2 separate regions of the Homo sapiens genome follow, and region 1 is linked to region 2. The links are contacts of gene promoters, found by promoter capture Hi-C in human tissues and cell types (Jung and others, 2019). All regions are on one chromosome and are shown on one strand. Each heading gives the region's core, a stretch centred on a gene start or on the middle of the fragment in contact. The rest is flanking DNA. Distances are from core to core; before and after follow the strand shown.

Region 1 (6,848 bases), core at 411-2,910, 210 kb after region 2:
GGCCCTAAATCCAATGTTGAGTGTCCTTATAACAGACAGAAAAAAGGAGACACAGAGGTGAGGAGAAGGCCGTGAGAAGACAGAGGCAGACAGTGGAGTGATGCCGCCGCAAGCCAAGGAATGCCTGGAGCCACCAGAAGCTGGAAAACACAGGGAAAGATTCTTCCTCAGACCCTTTGGAAGGGGCATGGCCCTACCGACATTTTGACTGGAAACCTCTGGCCTCCAGAACGGTGAAAGAACACATTTCTGTTGTTTTAAGCCACCCAGTTTGCAGTACTTTGCTATGGCAGCCATGGGAAAGTCATACAGTTGGCAAATGCTACATTGTTTCACTCCTTCTGAGTAGGCTTAGTGCTCATTAGCACATTCAGGGCTCTGAAAAGTCCTGCAACAAAGAAAGCAGTTTGACAACAGGTGCTGGCAAGGTTGCAGAGAAACGGGAATGCTTTTACGCTGTTGGTGGGAATGTAAATTAATTCAACCATTGTGGAATTCCTCAAAGATCTAGAACCAGAAATATCATTTGACCCAGCAATCCCATTACTGGGTATATGCCCAGAGGAGTATAAATCATTCTGTTACAAGGATACATGCACGCCTGTGTTCATTGAAGCACTATTTAAGACATGGAATTAACCCAAATGACCATCCATGATAGACTGGATAAAGAAAATGTGGTACGTATACACCATGGAACACTATGCAATCGTAAAAAGGAACGAGATCGTGTCCTTTACAGGGATATAGATGGAGCTGGAAGCCATTATTTTCAGTGAACTAATGCAGGAACAGAAAACCAAACACAGCGTGTTCTCACTTATAAGTGGGAGCCAAACAATGAGAACACATGGACACAGGGAGGGGAACAACACACAGTGAGGCCTGTCAGGAGGTGGGGTTGGGGGAGGGAGAGCATTAGGAAAAATAGCTAATGCATGCTGGGTTTAATATCTAGGTGATGAGTTGATAGGTGCAGCAAACAATCATCGCACACATTTACCTATGTAACCAACCTGCATATCCTGCACGTGTACCCCAGAAATTAAAATTCAAATAAAATTTAAAAAAGATTATGACTCTCTCTGAAGGCTCAGATGATTGTTAGCACTTTTTATCAATAAAGTATATTTAAATTTAAAAAAAAAGAGTTTGACATTGAACCCATAATTTCTCAAGCACCAAACTGGGAACACTCTTGTCAAGTAACAAAATAACTATAACTAGGATAATAGAAAAGATGTCGGCTGTGCGCGGTGGCTCACGCCTGTAATCCCAGCACTTTGGGAGGCCGAGGCCGGCGAATCCCCTGAGGTCAGGAGTTTGAGACCAGCCTGGCCAACATGATGAAACCCCGTCTCTACTAAAAATACAAAAAATTAGCTGGGTGTGGTGGCAGGTGCCTGTAATGCCAGCTACTCAGAAAGCTGAGGCAGGAGAATCGCTTGAACCCAGGAGGCAGAGGTGGCAGCGAGCCAAGATCGCACCACTGCACTCCAGCCTGGGCAACAAGAGTGAAACTCCATCTTAAAAAAAACAAAAAACAGAAAGGATATCAGGCAGTTTGGGAGCTACTACGGGTACTTCATTGTGAATGAATGAAAGAGAAACACCTACAGTGGTCATAACTTACTGCCTGAAAGCCATGCCTGCCTCTTAGGGGAGACTATCTTTGGTGTCAAAGGAGATACTCACATGTAGGTGGGGGCTGAGCCATCCATCCACCTGTGGGCACTTCCTTGGCCATCTTTGAAGAGGCCTATCCAGGATGTCGCCTGGTTAGTTGATGTCAGGAAGTCCTGGAAGGAAGAAGTTACATTTGGGAGGTGGAATTCCTTGGAAGCTGAAAGGATGGAGGCAGGGGTGTACAGAGGGCGAGAGGAGTAAGTTGCAGAGATCACAGTTAGATGGGCAGGCAGACAGAGGCAGGCAGGGAATTCACTGCCCTTGAATCTTGACTTTGAATCTCAGATCTACTATGTATTAGGTTGGTGCAAAAGTTATCGTGGTTTTACCACTATAGAAAACAGTGTGGAGATTCCTTAAAGAACTGAAAATAGGGCCGGACACGGTGGCTCACGCCTGTAATCCCAGCACTTTGAGAAGCCAAGGCGGGTGGATCACCGGAGGTCAGGAGTTCGAGACCAGCCTGACCAACATGGAGAAATCCCGTCTCTACTAAAAATACAAAATTAGCTGGGCATGGTGGCACATGCCTGTAATCTCAGCTACTCGGGAGGCTGCAGCAGGAGAATTGCTTGAAGCTGGGAGGCGAAGGTTGCGGTGAGCCGAGATCACACCATTGTACTCCAGCCCGGGCACCAAGAGCAAAACTCTGTCTCAAAAAGAAAAGAAAAGAAAAAAAAGAACTAAAAATAGAACTACCATCTGATCTACCAATCCCACTACTGGGTATCTACCCAGAGGAATAGAAGTCATTATACGAAAAAGATATTTGCACAAGCACTTTTATAGCAGCACAACTCACTATTGCAAAAATATGGAACCAGCCCAAACGCCCATCAATCAATGAGTGGATAAAGAAACTGTGAGATAGATATATACTGTGAGATATATATATACTGTGAGATATATATATACACATATATACACACATATATAATATATACACATATGTATACTGTGAGATATATATACACATACACATATGTGTGTATGTGTACATATATACATGTGTGTATATATACATATATACATATATAATATGTGTGTATATATATACACATATATACACGTGTGTATATATACACATATACATATATACACGTGTGTATATATACACATACATACATATGTATATATGTGTATATGTATGTATATATGCACACACAGTGGAATGCTACTCAGCCATAAAAAGGAATGTATTAATGGCATTTGCAGCAACCTGGATGGAATTGGAGACCATTATTCTAAGTGAAGTAACTCAGGAATGGAAAACCAAACATCGTATGTTCTCTCATAAGTGGGAGCTAAGCTATGAGGATGCAAAGACATAATAATGACACAATGGACTTTGGGAACTTGGGGGTAAAGGGTGGGAAGGGGTGAGGGATAAAATTAGGTTCAGTGTATACTGCTCAGGTGATGGGTGCACAAAATCTCACAAATCACCACTAAATAACCTACTCATGTAACCAAGTACCACCTGACCTCAGGTGATCCACCTGCCTCCACCTCCCAAAGTGCTGGGATTACAGGCGTGAGCCACCGTGTCCGGCCCTATTTTCAGTTCTTTAAGGAATCTCCACACTGTTTTCTATAGTGGTAAAACCACAATAACTTTTGCACCAACCTAATACATAGTAGATCTGGGATTCAAAGTCAGGATTCGAGGGCAGTGAATTCCCTGCCTGCCTCTGTCTGTCTTCCCATCTAACTGTGTCTCTGCATCTTACTCCTCTCGCCCTCTGGACACCCCCGCCTCCATCATTTCAGCTTCCAAGGAATTCCACCTGTTCCCCCAAAACCTATGGAAATAAAAAATAAAATAATCGCAGTTTTTGCCATTGAAAGTAATACACGTTGCAATGGCCTCCAACAATTCAGCCACCCCTCAGTTTCCCCATCAGCACAAACAAAAGAATGGAGATCCCCAGCTCTTAATATATTCTCACGGCCGGGCACGTTGGCTCACACCTGCAATCCCAGCACTTTGGGAGGCCGAGGTGGGTGGATCACGAGGTCAGGAAATCGAGACCATCCTGGCTAACACAGTGAAACCCCGTCTCTACTAAAAATACAAAAAAACATTTAGCCAGGTATGGTGGCGGGTGCCTGTAGTCCCAGCTACTCGGGAAGCTGAGGCAGGAGAATGGTGTGAACCCTGCAGGCGGAGGTTGCAGTGAGCCGAGATCGCGCCACTGCACTCCAGCCTGGGCAACAGAGCGAGACTCTGTCTCAAAAAAAAAAAAAAAAAAATATATATATATATATATATATATATATATATATATATTCTCACAAGTCAATTGTGAGAAGTGTGTGCACCTAGGAAGACCCCCTGGATAAATATTGGCTGTGAGTGTGCATGTCAGAGCAAGCAGTTTGATCTATAGGCCGTAGGAAGACTTCTGTCAGGAGACTCAATCCCAGGGACAATCTTGAGACCCTATCTTAGGTCAAGCCTTGTTTTTGGCCTAGGAGACCCAGACATGATTCAGATCTAGCCCCAGAGTCAGTGGATACCAGGCAACCCCAATGCAGCATGAAGTTCTGGGATAAAGATCTCTGATGGGCCGGGCACGGTGGCTCATGCCTGTAATCCCAATACTTTGGGAGGCAGAGGAGGGTGTATCACCTGAGGTCAGGAGATCGGGACCATTCTGGCCAATATAGTGAAACCCCATCTCTACTAAAAATACAAAAATTAGCTGGGCGTGGTGGCGGGCGCCTGTAGTCCCAGCTACTTGGGAGGCTGAGGCAGGAGAATCGCTTGAACCTGGGAGATGGAGGTTGCAGTGAGCTGAGATTGCGCCACTGCACTCCAGCCTGGCGACAGAGTGAGACTTCATCTTTAAAAAAAAAAAATCTCTGATGATGCTACAAGAGGATGTGGAGGAAGGGATGTTTGTGTTGGGCTTTTGAGGGATGAATAAGACTTCTCCATGCAGATGGCAAAGGAAAGGACTGTCCAGAGAGTGACCCACAGGAATCAGAGCTTCGAGACAAGACTACAGTGCACAGGGTCCGTTCCCTGAATGACGGAGCAGTGAGATTGGGCTGGGGCAAGGGAAGGCAGATCTTCAAGATCCTACTAAGAGTACTGTACATGATCCCAAAGGGGATAAGGATAGGAATCCCAAAATTCTTGTAGAATCCTTCCTCCACCTCCACTAGGGTCCTAACTTTCCGTTTCCCACCTATTCTGCTCAGCTGTTGATGACAACCAAGTGAGCTGCTTCTGGGCACAAGAATCAATGGCCTGGGGCCAGGTGAGGTTGTCTGAAAAGAAGCTGTAACAGGAGCCCTGGAAGGCCTTCCAGCTCTTGGGGCAGGGCAGGCAGGAGGATTCTGTGAGGATGGAGCCATTAGCAAATTTAGTGTATCCAGCTTTCCACCCAGTTGCCCACCCACTCGCTTCTGGCCACATTCCTAATGGCTTCCACTTGAATACACCCAACAATGGGGAACTCACTACCTAGACAGTTGGTGCTTGACATTACTGAAACATATCAGAAGGACATACTAAAATGCCATAAATATCCTACTGGGTGTGTTAGCTCACGCCTGTAATCCAAACGCTTTGGGAAGCCAAGGCAGGTGGATCACTTGGGGTCAGGAGTTTGAGACCAACCTGGCCAACATGGTGAAACCCCATCTCTACCAAAAAAAATACAAGAATTAGCTGGGCATGGTGGCACGCACCTAGTCCCAGCTACTTGGGAGGCTGAGGTGGGAGAATTGCTTGAATCCAGGAGCTGGAGATTGCAGTAAGCCAAGATGGCATCACTGCATTCCACCCTGGGTGACAGAGTGAAGCTCTGTCTCAAAAAAAAAAAAAAAATGCCATAAATATCCTATTAAGTGGAAAAGGCAACTGTAGGAATAATGTGCCAGGCGCGGTTGGCTCACGCCTGTAATCCCAGCACATTGGGAGGCCGGGGCGGGTGGATCACTTGAGGTCAGGAGTTCAAGACCAGCCTGTCCAACATGGTGAAACCCCATCTCTACTAAAAATACAAAAATTGGCTGGGTGTGGTGGCGGGTGCTCATAATACCAGCTACTAAGGACCCTGAGGCAGGAGATTGCTTGAACACAGGAGGCAGAGGTTGCAGTGAGCTGAGATCACACCATTGCACTCCAGCCTGAGAGAATGTGAATAATATACTACCTTTAAATAAAATAGAAAAGCATATGTTTGACATTCCTTGTTTTCTTAAAGAAACTCTACGGCTGGGCACAGTGGCTCACGCCTGTAATCCCAACACTTTGGGAGGTCGAGGCAGGTAGATCACGAGGTCAGGAGATCGAGACCATCCTGGCTAACATGGTGAAACCCCGTCTCTACTAAAAATACAAAAAAAAAAAAAAAATTACCCGGGCGTGGTCGTAGGCACCTGTAGTCCCAGGTACTTGGGAGGCTGAGGCAGAGAACTGCTTGAACCTGGGAGGCAGAGCTTGCAGTGAGCCGAGATTGCACCACTGCACCCCAGCCTGGGCAACAGAGCGAGTCTCCGTCTCAAAAAAAAAAAAAAAAGAAAGAAAGTGTAAAGCAGTGGTCCCCAGTCAGGGGCGATTTTGTCCCCAGTGGACATCTGGCAATGTCTGAAGGCATTTTTGTTCACCACAACTAGCGGAGAGGTACCACTGGCATGGAGAAGGTAGAGACCAAGGGTGTTGCTAAACACCCTGCAATGTACAGGACAGCCCCTTACTGCAAAGAATGATTCATCCCCACATGTCAATCGTATTGAGTTTGAGAAAGGCTGCCCTAAAGGAATAAAGCCCAGCTAATTCCAGTAGTTCTTGGGAGTTTGTGTTGGGGCTTAGGTGGGGAACATGGCAATGAGGTTTCAGGAGTGGGAGGGAAAATTCTCACTGATTTTATCTATATCCATCTACAGAACACATACACCATCAATCATTACTTGTGGGTTCCATATTTACAAATCCACCTACTCACTGAAATGTATTTGTAACCCCAGAGCAGATACTTATGTCATTTTGGGGGTCATTTGTGCGGATAAGCAGAGTAGTGAAAAGTTTGAGTCTGAGATAGAAGAAAAGAACTCTCTGCTGTCTTGTTTCAGCTTTCCTGCTGTAAACAAGTGTCCTTTTCATGGACTATTAAGTGCCATGTTTTTCACATTTTTGTGCTTTTCTTTCT
Region 2 (7,183 bases), core at 1,418-3,917:
CACTTTGGGAGTCCGAGGCAGGAGGATAACCTGAGGTTGGGAGTTGGAGACCAGCCTGACCAAAATGGAGAAACCTTGTCTCTACTAAAAATACAAAATTATCTGGGCATGGTGCTGCATGCCTATAATCCCAGTTGCTTGGGAGGCTGAGGCAGGAGAATCGGAGGCGGAGGTTGCTGTGAGCCAAGATAGGGCCATTGCACTCCAGCCTGGGCAACAAGAGTGAGACTCCGTCTCAAAAAAAAAAAAAAAAAAACCAAAACCAAAAAAAAGCAAAAAACCAAAAAAACATTTACTCAGTAGGCACTCTTTTTTTTTTTTTGATGATGAGTATCGCTCTGTCTCCTAGGCTGAAGTGCAGTGGCATGATCTCAGCTCACTGCAACCTCTGCCTCCTGGGTTCAAGCAATTCTCCTGCCTCAGCCTCCTGAGTAGCTGGGATTGCAGGCACACACCACCATGCCCAGCTAATTTTTTGTAATTTTAGTAGAAGCAGGGTTTCACCATGTTGGTCAGGCTGGTCTCGAACTGCTGACCTCGTGATCTGCCCGCCTCGGCCTCCCAAAGTGCTGGGATTGCAGGTGTAAGCCACTGTGCCTGGCCCAGTAGGCACTCTTTAAGAGCAGGTGTCACACAGTAGAAACTCTATGTAGACCATATGTAGACCATGAGTCACAGAGTGGGCACACTATGAAGAGCAGGTGGCAGCAGTAGGCACTCTTTATGTAGAGCAGGCAGCAGTGAGTAGGCACTCTTTATCAGGAGCAGATGATACTCAGTAAACACTCTTTATATAGAGCAGGTGGCATCTGTAGGCACTCTTTATCTAGAGCAAGTGGCATTCAATGGGCTCTCTCTCTTTTTTATTTTTTTGTGAGACAGAGTCTCACTCTGTTGCCCAGGCTGGAGTGCAGTGGTATGAACTCAGCTCACTGCAAACTCTGCCTCCCGGGTTCATGAGATTCTCCTGCCTCAGCCTCCCGAGTAGCTGGGATCATAGGTGCCCGCCACCACGCCCGGCTAATTTTTGTATTTTTAGTAGAGATGGGGTTTCACCATGTTGGCCAGGCTGGTCTTGAACTCCCGACCTCAGATGATCTGCCTGCCTTGGCCTCCCAAAGTGCTTGGATTACAGGCATGAGCTACTGTGCCTGGCCAGTAGGCACTCTTTATGTATTGCAGGTGGTACTGAGTAGGCACTTTTTATGTAGCGCAGGCAAGAGTAGGAACTCTTCATGTAGAGCAAGCAGCACTCAGTAGGCACCCTTTATGTACAGAAGGCAGCCCACAGTAGGTACACTTTATGGAGCACAGGCAACACTCGAGCAGGCAGCACTCAATAGACCCTCTTTATGTAGATCAGGAAACACTCAGTAGGAAGTCACCATATAGAGCAGGTGGTATCAGTAGGCACTGTTTATGTAGAGCACTTGGCACTCAGTAGGCATGTGTTATGTAGACAGCAACTGGTGCTCAGTGGGCACTCTTCATATACAGGGGGTGGCACTCAATAGGCACTCACTATGTAGAGCAGGTGGCACACAGTAGGCACTCTATGAGGAATATCAGGAACTGAGTATACAGGGTTAATGTAGAGCACCTGGCACACAGTAGGCACACTTTATGGAAAGCACTTGGCACAGAGTAGACAGGATTTAGCACCTGGCACACAGTAGCTGCCCTTCATTTAGAGTATTGGCACACAGTAGAAGTACTTTCCATGCAGCCTTTGTGCAGAGTAGAGACTGGCACACAGCAGCTCAAGTGCTAGTTGCCACCCTTTCCCTTCACTCCTTTTTGGGGCTCCCTCCTCTTAGGAGCCCTCATTGTCCCCCGCTAAGGCCCTCATCGAACATCCCATTTCCCAGATGGGAAGACTGCACCCAGGAGGGGCAGTACTGACCAAAGTCAGAGCAAGGATGAGGCAGAATGAGGACTCCATTCATGGTTCCCTGGCTCTGCCCTTCCCCTGCCTGGACCCCATCCGTTCCCTCTCATCCTAACCCTCCACGTCCCCGCTCTGTCCTCCTATACTGAGTCCGGCCTCCAGATTTGCTTTTCCAGCTGAGCTCTTAATCTCCAGAATCTGACCCAGGTAATCCTCAGTGGGGCTGGATTCTTTGTTCCCGTTCCTAGCAGTCAGGTCTCCAACAGGGCCCTGGACTGCCTGGAGGCAAGACTTGAACTCCATCCAGCAGCAGGGGGATAGAGGCTTGTCTCTTCCAGGTTGCCTGATTCAGCATCCAGAAGTGGTACACGGTGTCCTACCGGCCCAGGGTTAGAGAGGAGCACAGGAGATGATCTGGAACAAGGCTTGGCCTGGCCTGGCTCGCTTGACACCTGAACTCTCAAGTTCATGCTTTTATCTGCCACACACTCAGTAGGTGCTCTTTAAGAGCAGGTGTCACACAGTGGAAACTCTATCTGACCCCTCTCGGCTTACTCTCCACCTTATGTGGGAGGTGCTGAGACCTGAGGATCCAGTGCCTGTGCTGTGTCACCCTGAGCTGGTTCCTCTGCATCCAGCTGGTCTCCCACACCCAGGTTTTGGCCAGCTGCCCAGACATGGGAGCGGCACCCAGGCTGTGGGGATTGGCTGGCCCAGCCCAGCCCAGCCTAGCCTCCCACAGCCTTCCCTACATCAGGGGCCAGGGGAAAAAACCTCCCAGAAGAAGGGGAGAGGAGGTTGTGTGGGACAAGGTGCTCCTGACAGAAGGTGCCAGGGTGGGGGTGGTGGGCCTGGGGCATCCTAGCCTGTGATGGAGATGGGCACTGGGCAAGGGATTGGGCGCACACATAGGGGAGCCCCAGCCTTCCCACATTCTCCATTGCTGCCCAAGGCCCAGGCAGCTCCTGGTTGCTGGCTTGGAGGATGAGTGGTTTTCTAACTGAAACCAAGCCCCTGGCAACGTCCTAATGATTCAGGCTGGGCCTTTCTGGACTTTAATCAGTTTCTCTGTCTTTCTCAATCTAAGTGCTTACCGGGTAACTGGAGGCCACTTGGTTGCTGGTTTTGGCTGGGCCTTTCTGGACTTTACCCCTCAGCCCCTGTTTATCCATCCCTGTTTACTCTTACTGTTCTATCTCCAGCACTGCCCGTCTCTGCCTCTCTCCACTGTCCCTGGAGCTCCCTGGGCCCTTCCCTGGGCCTCAGGACCTCACTCACCACCCCATCTGCCCTGCAGGATGCCACAGCTGAGCCTGTCCTCGCTGGGCCTTTGGCCAATGGCAGCATCCCCGTGGCTGCTCCTGCTGCTGGTTGGGGCCTCCTGGCTCCTGGCCCGCATCCTGGCCTGGACCTATACCTTCTATGACAACTGCTGCCGCCTCCGGTGTTTCCCGCAACCCCCGAAACGGAATTGGTTCTTGGGTCACCTGGGCCTGGTGAGTGTGGCAGCAGGACGGGTCTGGGGTCTCAGGGTGGATGGACTTCCTGAGGGGTAAGAATGAGGCTCAGGTGAGAGGGGGTGGGCTGGGGTCTGGGGTGGCAGAGAAGCAGGGGAGGCGTCTTACTCATTCCTCTGCTTACTCATTTCTGTGAGGTGCCAACCCAAGCCCTTCTCACCTCCCTGTTCTCCCACTCTTGGCCTGTGTTGAATCCTTTTCCTGCCTGTCTTTCCACATTAATGCACCTCTGCGGGGCTCTTGGGCAGGGGGTTGGGTGCACAGAAAGGTGAACCCCTGGCGTTCCCACATTCTCCATTGCTGGACTCGAGGCCTCCTGTACCCACTGTTCAGGGTCCTCTCCCTACCTGGCCTATTTCCTCTTATGAGGGTATAGGTGGGCCAGAGGAGAGGTGTGGGCTGTCTCTCACCTCCACCACATCCGGAGGCACCTTCCTCTTATCTTGTTCCTCCCCAGTAAGATGTCCCAATGGGGTCCTGTTGCCAAACCCACATAAAAGTTGGCCACTCACTTCCCCTTTCAGAAGCCTTCCCTGACCTTTCTCCTCCCCCAGACCTTGCCCTCTGACTTAGACCTGCTCTCCCCTTTGCGGAACGTGGTCTCAATCTGCTCATTGCAAATGGCAGGATTGATGGGTGTGTCCACAGGTGAAGTGGGAGGGTGCACAGGATGCACTAGCACAGAGCCTGGTGCAGAAGCTTCTCCCAGGTGGGAGCCACTGTCATGATGGACAGTTAGAGTCACCTCTGCTCCCCTAGTGACTGCTGAGAAGGGAAGGTCCCCTGTGTGCAGAACCTTCTCCATGGGAGGAACTGGAACCTGTGTGGCTGGTGGAGGAACCAGCCAGGGCATGAAGGGATGTGGGGACCAGCCTTAGGGACATGTCCTGAGTCCACACTGCTCCCCACAAACCTCCCCTGTGAGGACCTCCTCATATGCCCACCTCTGGGCTGAAATGACTCCCAGAACAAGGAAATTTTTCCTCTCAAGCTAAGTGGGCCTCTGTGAGTGGACAGTGTGTCTTTTCCTTCTGCCTTGGGATGCGCTCTTGGGACTTGGGGGTGGCCCCAAGAGAGATAGAGCAGGAGGAATGTAGACAGATAGATAGGTAATAGGATAGATGGATGGATGGATGCACAGATAGGGTGAATAGATGGCTGGCTGGCTGGATAAGTAGGTGGGTAGATAGACAGATAGATAGATAGATAACAGGATAGATGGATGGATGGACAGATGGATGCATGGATAAGATGGATGGATGGATGGATGGATGGATGGATGGATGGATAATACATACATAAAGTAGTAGATAAGATGGATACATTAGGTGGATAGATAGGTAGAGTGGATATGTAGGATGGATAGATTAGATGGATGGATAGATAGCTAGATGATTGATAGATAATAGGATAAATGGATGAGTGGATGAATGTACAGATAAGATGGATGGATGGATGGATGGATGGGCAGATAGATATATAGATAGAAAAGTTAGATAGGATGAATAGATTAGATAGATAAATGAATAGATAGATAGGTAGGTAGATAGATAATAGGCTAGATGGATGAATGGATGCACAGATAGGATAGATGAATGGATAGATAGACAGATATATAAGATAGAATGGATGGATTAGATAGATGGATAGATACATAGAAACATAGGTAGATAGATAGATTAGATAGATAGATAGATAGACAGATAGATACATACATACATACATATATAGATACATAGATAGGTAGATATGTAGAGATATATATAGGTAAATAGATAGATAGATAGATAGATAGATAGATAGATAGATAGATAGATAGATAGACAGACAGGCAGACAGACAGATAGATAGATAGAAGAGGGAGTTTATTTCGGGAATTGGCTCACAGGATTATAGAAGCTGAGATGCGTCATGGACTGCTGTCTGCAGGCTGGATAAACAGACACTGGTTGTGTAACTGAGTCCAAAGGCCTGAGACGGTGGAGTTCTGGTGTCCAAGGGCAGGAGAAGATGGATGTGCCAGCCCCACAACAGAGCAAATTAGCCTTTCCTCTGCATTTTTGTGCTACCTGGGCTCTCAACAGATTGAATGAGCTCTGCCCACACTGGGGAGGGTGATTCTTCCTTCCTCAGTTTACCAAATTGAATGCCAGTCTCTTCTGGAAACACCCTCACAGACGGATGATCAACTATCTGGGCATCCTTTAGCCCAGTCAAGTGGACACCTAGAATTAACCATGACAGGAGGTGACGGCCCCTGCCTTGCTTGCAGGTCACCCCCACGGAGCAGGGCATGAGGGTCCTGACTCAGCTGGTGGCCACCTACCCCCAGGGCTTTAAGGTCTGGATGGGCCCCATCTTCCCCGTCATCCGTTTTTGCCACCCCAACATCATCCGGTCTGTCATCAACGCCTCAGGTACCACCTGGAATACTTGGTGGTGGGTGCTATGGTGCATTTGAGGCCTGCAAGTCCCTCTATCCCCAAGCCGTGTGTGGCCCCTGCAGTACTCTGGTCTCTCCTTTCCTTCTCTCTCAGCCATCTTCATCTTTCTTTCATGTATTCACTAATTCCCATCTCAGCATCTCCTCTCTCCATTGCCATCTGACCCCCTGTCCTGGTGTTCTGGGCTGCCCTGGGGCCCCAAGAGACCTCAACCCAAGGCCCTGTCCTGGAGGAACCCCCAAGCTTAAGGAGGTGGATGTGGACAGAGACATCCCCAACTTCATGGGGTCAAGAAAGGGCCAGAGGGAGATGGATGACAGCCCAGAGAAGAGCAAGTTCTCTGCTGGGGCAGGCTGGAAGCCTTCCTGGAGGAAGAGTTACTGGAGCCATGTCTGGAACAATGAGTAGGGATGTTTGAAAGGAGAGTGCAGGGTGATGCAATTGGGCATCGTTAGTGTTCAAGGCCCCTTGCCAGGTCTAGCGTCACCTTGCCTGTCACAAAGGTTAGAACAATGAGGACTTGTGGCTGGTGGAGGATCTGGACTGTTATTTCTGTGATGTCCATCTCTGGTGTGGGTCAAGTCCTTTTACCCCATCCTGTAGTTTGTCTGCCCTAAGTTCATTGCTTTTCTGCTCTAGGCCCTGGGAATCTCCAAAAGGAGACTCCAGCCTAGTTTGGGGCCCTCTCCTTGACCCCTGTGCTTCCCTTCTTGGACAGGCCAGGCTGAGCAGGGAAACAGGCAGCATCCTACAGAGACCATGGCTCTGGCCTCAAAATGCTGAGTGACTCTGGGCTGGTTCCCAGCTGTCTCTGGTTACTGAGGTCTCTTTCAGTTGTGAGTGGTGGAAATCCAACCTGGTGTAGTCTAAGCAAAGAAAGAGAATCTATTGATTTTAAAGTCCAGGGAGGATGGCCTTCAGGCATGGCTGGATCCAGGTCTCACACAGTGTTACTTCCTCTCTTGGCTTTAGCTTTCTCCACGCCACTTTTGGCTTGTCTTCCTTTCTTGGCTTTAGCTTTTTCCACGCCACTTTTGCTTTCAAGACAGTCTTTCCCTCATGACGTCAACAATGAGTCCTAGAAGCTCAATTCTCATGGGAAAGCCCACATTTCCCCCAGAGTTCCCAGAAAAGGCCCATGATTTACTTCTCCTGGCCTGGATCACCAGATCAATTTTTCACCCAGTCCCTGTGTTTCTGATTGCCTAGTCTCGGCAGGCCTGGGCCTTCTAGAGCTACTGTTTTGGGGGCACAAAGAAGTTTGATGGTTAAGGAATCAGGCCATGGGTGCAGATAGACCCAGTCTCAGGCCTCAGGTTTGCCATGGTCTGGGA

The links. The method cuts DNA at HindIII sites, captures the fragments that hold promoters and counts their contacts. A contact is called where the count stands out against the background at its distance.
Region 1: a fragment that was not itself captured here is called in contact with the fragment with the promoter of CYP4F3 in region 2 in 2 of the 25 tissues and cell types used here (dorsolateral prefrontal cortex and spleen).

What each region holds. Positions count from the first base shown.
Region 1 is chr19:15,853,038-15,859,885 of GRCh38, forward strand. It overlaps the pseudogene CLEC4OP. Among named protein-coding and RNA genes, the nearest start is that of UCA1, 28 kb to the left of the region's middle. The HindIII fragment of the contact is 7,299 bases long and covers 1-5,310 here.
Region 2 is chr19:15,638,230-15,645,412 of GRCh38, forward strand. CYP4F3 (cytochrome P450 family 4 subfamily F member 3) reads left to right here and starts at 2,668. Exons shown (of 13, transcript NM_000896.3): 1 at 2,668-2,716; 2 at 3,186-3,384. The coding sequence starts at 3,187. The HindIII fragment of the contact is 9,363 bases long and covers 1-5,098 here.